Regions from separate parts of the Homo sapiens genome. Here all the other regions are linked to region 1. Evidence: promoter capture Hi-C in human tissues and cell types (Jung and others, 2019). All regions are on one chromosome and are shown on one strand. Each heading gives the region's core, a stretch centred on a gene start or on the middle of the fragment in contact. The rest is flanking DNA. Distances are from core to core; before and after follow the strand shown.

Region 1 (3,005 bases), core at 173-2,672:
ATGATGAAGGCTGCCCCGAGCTGGGGGTTCAGGATGTTCTGCTTGGACTGAACTCTGCCGAATCACTTGGGACCTGCGCCTTCCCGCGGGTGCATCCGCTACAAACAATCCAGTTACGAAACCATTTGGAGCTGCCAGTGATCTCCCCAGCTCCCCTACCGGTGCCGCGGGAGGGGACACGGTGACCTGGAGGGAGCACTCCCGCATTGCGAGGGAGCCAGGGGGGCGGTCTGATCTGCAGCCCGGGGTTGTTCCTTCTTTTCTTTTTTTAAAATTAAGACTTTTTTTGTGACGGAGTCTCGCTCTGTCGCCCAGGCTGAAGTGCAATGGCGCGATCTCAGCTCACTGCAACCTCCGTCTCCCGGGTTCAAGCGGTTCTCCTGTCTCAGCCTCCTGAGTAGCTGGGATTACAGGCGCCCGCCACCACGCCCAGCTAATTTTTGTACTTTTAGTAGAGACGGGGTTTCCCCATGTTGGCCAGACTGGTCTAGAACTCCTGAGCTCAAATGATTCGCCCGCCTCGACCTTCCATAGTGCTGGGATTACAGGCGTGAGCCACCGCGCCAGGCCCTACGTATCATTTTTACGGTGAGACATTTGCAGTTTACTCTGTTATTTCGAAATACACATTATTGGCTCTAGTCACTCTGCTGTGCAACAGATCTCAGAACCTACTCCTCTCGTCTCTGAACTTCGTACCCTTTGGCCAACAAGCCCCCATTCCCCCCCGAACCCGCTCCCAGCCTCTGGCAACCATCATTCTAGTCGTTATTTCTATGAGTTCAACTTCTTTAGAGTTCACACATCTTTGTCCCTTTCCCCAAAAAAGCAACCGCTGGGCTTCCAAACTCGCTACAAGTCCAGAAGCCCTCCTGGAAAGGGTCTGGCCGCAGAGGGGCCAGGTCCCGGGAAAGTCTCGCCCGCCCGAGGAGGGGGCCTGGCGCGGCGCCCGGCCTTTGCCCGCTCGCCCTTTGCTCCCACCCTCGCCTCCCGCCGCCCGCCGCCCGCTTGCCCATTCCCGAATCCCCACCCCGATCTTTCTTCTTCTACCCTCCCCCAGTTGTGCAGTCCAGCAAGTTCCCTGGCCAGCCCCCTCCCGGGTGCAGGAAGCTACCGGGTGTCCCGGGTTGTAACCAAGCTTTCCTATTCCCTCCGGCGCGCGGCTCCAAGCTCTCCAAGGAACTGCGGGGGCGGGAGGCGTCGGGACGTCGGCTCCCAAGATCCTCCGAGTGCAAGACCCAGCGGTCATTTCGACGTAAGGGGAGGAGGTCTAAGAGCAAACCTCCTCCACTGGGGCGTCTAGAAACTTGGCAGGAAGAAAGCAAGGGGGTTAGAGGAGGGAGAAAAGGGAAGGAAAGAAAGCAGGAGGTCTACTTACAGGAGCCCGAAGGTTCCACTGCCTGGGGAAGGCGGCTGGGACTGCGCAGCCGGGCGCCCGGGGTCCGACTTATGACAGGTCCCAAGAGAGGGTGGGGCCACCCCAGGGCGGGGCTGCTTCTTTAGGGTGAGAGCCCGGCCCCGAAAGGGTCACAGGAGGAAAACCAGGGTCCGGGAAATCTGAGTGCGTTTGTGTGTGTGTGTGCGCGTATCTCTGTGTGCCTATGTGCATGTGCGCGCGCGTATGTGTGCATGTGTGCGTGTGTGTGCGTGCGCGCCCGCGCGCCCGTGTGTGTGCGTGTAGGGGGTTAGGGACTCCTGATAGGAAAATTCCTAACAGAGCTTTGTCCAGCTGACACTGGACCTCCGCCTGGGGTCCTAAGTTGGAGCCCGGCGGAAATATGCCCCGTGGGGGAACCAACCGTGGCATCTGCCAAGCAGGCCGGAAGGGTCCAAAGGCAGGGCCTGGGGCGGCCGCAGCCCTAATAAGCCCCCGGTGCTGGCTCCGATCCCTGGGCTCCCCGTCAGCCCTGCCGCTTGCCCGCAGTGCAAGCTTTCGCCCAGGGCTGCGGTGCAGACACCCTGCCTGTCTGTCCCCAGTCCGCCTGCTGAACACCTACTCGCCTTCCACCAGCCAATTCAAGGTCACCTCTGTGAACCCTTGCCAGACTCCCCCAGGCAGGAGTGAGCACTCTTGCCACTGAGGCACCCCACCCATCACACCCTAGCAAACATCAGGCCTTGACCTGGCTTCTGCAAGGAGAGGTGGTCTCAGGCAGGGGTTGAACGTGAAGCTAAGTCGTTGGTATTAGACGACTGCAGGTTCGAAGCCTGCACCTGCCACTTACTAGTGGTGTAGCTTTCAAAGACTTACTTACCTTCTCCTTGCCTCACTCAGTTCAGCCATCTGCAAGATGGGGATAAGAAGAATGCCTAACTTCCAGTCATTGTGAAGATTCAATGTCTTTAATTTATTTATTTAATTTTAATTATTTTGAGGTCTTGCTCTGTCACCCAGGCTGGAGTGCAATGGTGGGCATCATAGCTCATTGCAGCCTTGAACTCCTGGACTCAGGTGATCCTCCTTCAGCCTCCCTAGAAGCTGGGATTACAGGCCCACCACCACACCTGGCTCAATGTCTCTCCTTGTAAGGATACCCGCCATATTGGATTAGAGCCCCACTTGTCAGCCTCCGTTTAACTTAAACACGTCTTTGAAGGCCTTGTCTTCAAATACTGTCAAATGGATTAGGGCTCACTAATATGGCCTCATGTAACCTTAATTACCTCTTTAAAGGCCCTATCTACAAATACAGTTACATTCTGAGTACTGGGACTTGGGGATTTTAACACATGAAATTGGGGAAGACACAGTTCAGCCCATAACAGAGTGTGTGGACCAAGCGTGGTGGACGCATGCCACAGGATATACACAGCATCAGAAGCACTGGGTTCCATGTACATAAAGCAACTTGGATGGACCCTAAAAACACAATGCCGAGAGTTGAATTCTTCACACTAATCAGAGTTGGTGGCACTTTATCCCCACTGGTCTGCCAAATTCTTTCTTTCTCACTCTCTCCCTTCTCATTAATTTATGTAACTTAATATAAAACAAAACTCCATTC
Region 2 (3,005 bases), core at 188-2,687, 950 kb before region 1:
GGCAAGGACTTCATGTCTAAAACACCAAAAGCAATGGCAACAAAAGCCAAAATTGACAAATGGGATCTAATTAAACTAAAAAGCTTCTGCACAGCAAAAGAAACTACCATCAGAGCAAACAGACAACCTACAGAATGGGAGAAAATTTTTGCAATCTTCTCATCTGACAAAGGGCTAATATCCAGAATCTACAAAGAACTCAAACAAATTTACAAGAAAAAAACAACACCATCACAAAGTGGGCAAAGGATATGAACAGACACTTCTCAAAATAAGACATTTATGCAGCCAACAGACACATGAAAAAATGCTCATCATCACTGGCCATCAGAGAATGCAAATCAAAACCACAATGAGATACCATCTCACACCAGTTAGAATGGCGATCATTAAAAAGTCAGGAAACAACAGATGCTGGAGAGAATGTGGAGAAATAGGAACACTTTTACACTGTTGGTGGGACTGTAAACTAGTTCAACCATTGTGGAAGACAGGATCTAGAACTAGAAATACCATTTGACCCAGCCATCCCATTACTGGGTATATACCCAAAGGATTATAAATCATGCTGCTATAAAGACACATGTACACATATGTTTATTATGGCACTTTTCCCAATAGCAAAGACTTGGAACCAACCCAAATGTCCATCAATGATAGACTGGATTAAGAAAATGTGGCACATATACACCATGGAATACTATGCAGCCATAAAAAAGGATGAGCTCATGCCCTTGGTAGGGACATAGATGAAGCTGGAAACCATCATTCTCAGCAAACTATCGCAAGGACAAAAAACCAAACACCACATGTTCTCGCTCATAGGTGGGAACTGAACAATGAGAACACTTGGACACAGGAAGGGGAACATCACACACCAGGGCCTGTCATGGGGTGAGGGGAGGGTGGAGGGGGGAGGGAAAGCATTAGGAGATATACCTAATGTAAATGATGAGTTAATGGGTGTAGCACACCAACATGGTGTATGTATACATATGTAACAAACCTGCACGTTGTGCGCATGTACCCTAAAACTTAAAGTATAATAATAAAGATTTTTAATAGCCATTATATAGAAATTAAATCACTTGATTTTTGTATATAGATCTTGTATCCTGTTTTGAAAAAAAAAAAAAGAAAAGATCCTGGTGCAACTTTTCCAAATAATCCTTTCTATTCACAAAATTGTGATAACTTTATCATATACCAAATATGTATGTATATGTTGTATATACACGCACACACAACACATACATAATGGTACATGACATATATAGACATATATATATATACATACATGTACACACAGATATATGTGTATATATGCATGTAAGTGTGTGCATACATATTAGTATATGTCATTTTTCTGGGCTATCAATCATACATGCTGTTGGTTCTTTTGCCAAAGTTTTATTTTACAAATTACCATAGCTACATTTTTTTAAATCAGGTAACAAAAGTTCTACTTTGCAAGGTCTGATTATGAGGATACATGTTATGATAAAATACCATCTTTCAACAATCAAGTTTGTAAGCAAATATTTAAATGAATTTTCCAGAATAAACTTTTATGTAACTGTGATCTTTAAACATTGCTCACGTGTATGAGGAGTGAGAAGCCTGATGCCTGTGAGTCAGGCTGTGGACTGTACTATGGCTCGTGCCACCAGCTGGCCTATTGCATGACAGAGAATGGTCTCCACAAGTCACAAATTACATCTGTTTATGCTTCTATTTGTTAGACAATCTGGCACCGGGAACAGCTGAGCAGAAGGATTTGAAAACAGCTTGTTTGATTGATGTATCTAGAGTTATCTCTAAATCCAAATAAAATGTTAAGTGCTATCAAGAAATCATAAATCAGGCATGTCTCTCTTTGAGCTATGAGAAGTTCTTGCTAAAGCTTTTATGACACCCATTTGAAAGAAATACAATTGGCTTGTATTCAAAATAGGATTTAGGCCTGTGTGTACCACACGATTAATTAGGTCACATTTTTAACCCGATTCAGCTGTGAGATAGCACAGGGCCTAGCATGTAAGTCATGGTGATGGAAAAGGTTGGAACTAGGGTTTTCAACCAGGTAAGAGAAATGTAGAGAGCATCAGGTACAAATGCAGAAGGTGGTTGATACTAATGAGTATGTTCGAAGAGTAGTTGTGATCAATGACCTCTGTTTACGGGGAGCAAGACGCCAATCAGAACAGGCAACAACACAGGGAAGCTGAGTGCCAACTACTAGGACATCACTTTGGCGGGATCCCAGCACTGAATCTTCATCAGTTATGACAAGAAAATTTTACATGCTTATGTCTGTGAAAACTCTAAATGCCCAGGAGACAGTAGAAATGCACTTTTTCATTAAGCAAAACTTTTGGGGAAAAAAAAAAATTCCAGGCCAGGCACTGTGGCTCATGCCTGTAATCCCAGCACTTTGGGAGGCCAAGGTGGGAGGATCACTAGAGCCCAGGAGTTCAAGACCAGCCTGGACAACACAGCAAAACCCACATCTATACATTTAAAAAAAAAATTAGCTGGGCATAGTGGTGTGCTCCTGTAGTCCCAGCTACTCTGGAGGCTGAGGCAGAAGGATCACTTGAGCCCAGGAGTTCGAGGCTAGAGTGAGCTATGATTGTGCCACTGCACCAGCCTGGGCAAGAGAGGGAGGCACTGACTCAAAAAACAAAAACAAAACATTTCTGTATGTGTTGTATTAGGTGTTGCCAATTAATATCAGCTCTGCCTAACTTAGGCTGAAAAGGAATTACTAGAAGACTGTTGTGAAGTTTATAGTATCAACAGGAAGGCTAGAGAATAAAACTTGAAAAAATGGGTAAAAGCCAAGGAAAGCTAGGTGGGAGGCACAACAGTTTAGTCAAAGTCATGCCTAGGAGCAGATGGGCTCTGGTGACATCTTGTCACCAATACTGCTGCTCCAGACTCGGCTGCTGCTGTGCACCATGACAGTGAATGTATTCTCCAGTGCCTTTTTGCTTTGGCTTGAC
Region 3 (3,005 bases), core at 189-2,688, 810 kb after region 1:
TTACAGGCATGAGCCACCATGCCCAGCCCGATAGTATTTTAAATAGCTTTATTTGGAGCTCCTTTTCTCTATGAATTTAGGAAAGACTAAAGTAGGCTGAGTGCAGTGGCTCACACCTGTAATTTCAGCACTTTGGGTGAGGGGAGTATTATTGGAGGCCAGGAGATTGAGACTGAGATGCACAAGATGGCAAGACGCTGTCTCTACAAAAAAAAGTTTTTAAAATCAGGCAGGCATAGTGGTTTGTGTGCTACTGAGACTGTGGTGGTGGTCTCATCTACTCAGGAGACTGAGGCAAGAGGATCCCTTGAGCCCAGGAGTTTGAGGCTACAATGAGCTGTGATCATGCCACTGCACTCCAGCCTGGGTAACAGAGAAAGACTGTCTCCAAAGAAAAAAAAAAAAGACTAAAGTGTAGCTCAAGCATTTTCTCAAATATTTGCATGTGTAAATACTTACATGTATACTCTGTCTTTCATAGGACACAGTCCTTTCATAGGACTATTTAGGATTACTGAAGCCAGCAATAGTCTCCTTCCTCTGAAAAAGACCTGGCGTTAAAAAAAAAAAAAGACGTAGGTTTTAGTTATTTAAATAACAGTAAGGTCATTCTCATTATGAATCACACTTTATTGTAACCAATAAAAACACTAATACTTTCTTGGGCTTTGCCGGGGAAATGTAGACTATCGAATGAAAGAACATAGTCTTGATCTGTTCTGGATTCATCAGACAACCTGTCTTATTGTCCATTTATTTATCTGTTTATTTACCCTCTGGTTCTATATTTTCCATGTGGATATCAGGATACATCAGGTTAGAACTTGCTTCTGTACCTTACATGTATCTTGTTAACACACAGAATAGGTGGTTAGGAGCTTAGGCTCTGGAGTAAGACTGCTTGGATTCAAATCTTAACACTCACCCCTCATGACTTTCTATTTTGTGACCTTGGACAAGTAACTTAACTTCTTGCAGATTCAGTTTCTTTACTTTTAAAATGGCAATAATACAGTAATATGTTATAGGGTTGGTCACGAGGGTTAAATGTCTAAGTTATTAAGTTAGAGTCCTGAATTTTTCCCTCAGGTATGTTTTGTTGGGTCTGCAAAACTTGGCCCAGACAGTGTTAAAACAAAATTGTTTTCATTAGTTACCTACATTCAAAGTTTTATTAGTTAGGGCCAGGCATGGCGGCTCATGCTTGTAATCCCAGCACTTTGGGAGGCTGAGCCAGGCGGGTCACTTGAGCCCAGGAGTTCGAAACCAGCCTAGACAACATGGCAAAACCCTGTCTCTACAAAAAATAGAAAAATTAGCTGGGGATGGTGGCACACGTGCCTGTAGTCCCAGCTACTTAGGAAGCTGAAGTGGGGGGATTGTCTGAATCTGGGAGGTGGACGTTGCTGTGAGCTGAGATCACCCTACTGCACTCCAGCCTGGGTGACAGAGCGAGACCCTGTCTCAAAAACTTTATTGGTTGCTTATGTTGAAAAAATTAGAAGATTTATACAAAAGTCCAGATTTCTAGCTTTTCTTGAAATCTTAGAAGATCTGGCCAAATAGAGAAGCATTACCACATGGCAATAGTTGCTGTAGCTGAGTGGCAGGGTTATCAACTGCCTCATCAGATGGGGCCAGAGCTCTGTTGTCTTCTGGATGCTGAGGACAGACTAACAAGTTATATCATTGCATTTACACTGTTGTTTTTCTTATATGAAAGAGGAAAGTGAAATATTTCTCATAACCACATCTCTCTCTGAATTGGGAAAATGAGACTTATGCCAAGAGGGCCGTATGTTCAAGCAAAATGGGTGAAAGCTTACTTGTTTGTAGATGTAAGGCATATTTCTATAAATTCGATATGTAAGGTAGGTCTCTATTGAATGAAACCATATTGAATCCAACTGTAGTAAGAATTATGGCAAATGGCTGGGCACAGTGGCTCATGCTTGTAATCCCAGCACTTTGGGAGGCCAATGCAGGCAGATCACCTGAGGTCAGGAGTTTAAGACTAGCCAGGCCAACATGGTGAAACCCTGTCTCTACTAAAAATACAAAAAATTAGCCAGGCGTGGTGGTGTGCACCTGTTACTGGACTATTCCGGAGGCTGAGGCAGGAGAATCGCTTGAACCCAGGAGGCGGAGGCTGCAGTAAGCCAAGATCACACCACTGCACTCCAGCTTGGGCAGCAGAGTGAGACTCTGTCTCAAAAAGAAAAAAACTATTATGGCAAGCATATAGATTGTGATGAAAAACTTGAACTAGAAAGAGTTTGTGTTTATTTTCAAATAAAATAGGCAATGTTGCTATGTGATACTGTCATGGTACTAGAAAAAATTATATGGGAATAAAAATATTTTACAGCTGGCAACTTTGTGAAAGAATTTCAATTGAATGTTAAGTATTTGTTTAAACAAATGCTTAAAAATATAAACCTAGCCAGGAATATTATTGCTCAACATGTTGAACTAAGGCTTAGTTAAGGGCGTGTTGTGTGAATAAGTTTAATGATTTCTGGCAGTTTCTATTATAGATGATGAAGCCACAGATATACATATACAGGTTGAGTATCCCTGGTCTGAAAATCCCAAATCCAGAATGCTCTGAGATCTGAAACTTTTTGAGTGCTGACTCGACGCTCAAAAGAAATGCTCTTTGGAACATTAAGGATTTCAAATTTTTGGAGTAGTGATGTTGAACTGGTTAAGTATAATGCAGATATTTCAGAATGAAACCTGAAACAATTCTGGTCCCAAGCTAAACTTGTACCACACACCTAGGTATATGGCGTCAGGAGAATTTTGACGTGATTAAAAAGGTTTTAGACTGGGTTTTCATGACATGAAATGACTTCCAAGGTATTGACAAATATCTTGGCAAGTTTAAGGCAGATTTATCAAAACTAGTAATCATAACTATAGACAGTGCTGTAGCAGTGGTCAGTGTTAATTTTAGACTTATTAAAATCTAAACAAATGTAGGTATATGTTTTGCAGGGGTG

The links. Contacts are between HindIII fragments. The study calls those that stand out against the background at their distance.
Region 2: a contact is called between a fragment that was not itself captured here and the fragment with the promoter of PTGR1 in region 1, in 1 of the 25 tissues and cell types used here (lymphoblastoid cells).
Region 3: a fragment that was not itself captured here is called in contact with the fragment with the promoter of PTGR1 in region 1 in 1 of the 25 tissues and cell types used here (lymphoblastoid cells).

The regions. Positions count from the first base shown.
Region 1 is chr9:111,598,225-111,601,229 of GRCh38, forward strand. PTGR1 (prostaglandin reductase 1) reads right to left here and starts at 1,423. Exons shown (of 10, transcript NM_001146108.2): 1 at 1,379-1,423. RefSeq lists an enhancer at 1,274-1,846. The HindIII fragment of the contact is 5,410 bases long and covers 1-3,005 here.
Region 2 is chr9:110,645,858-110,648,862 of GRCh38, forward strand. No RefSeq gene overlaps it. Among named protein-coding and RNA genes, the nearest start is that of MUSK, 21 kb to the right of the region's middle. The HindIII fragment of the contact is 4,893 bases long and covers 1-3,005 here.
Region 3 is chr9:112,409,463-112,412,467 of GRCh38, forward strand. All of the region lies in intron 4 of HSDL2 (hydroxysteroid dehydrogenase like 2), which reads left to right. Among named protein-coding and RNA genes, the nearest start is that of HSDL2, 31 kb to the left of the region's middle. The HindIII fragment of the contact is 3,136 bases long and covers 1-3,005 here.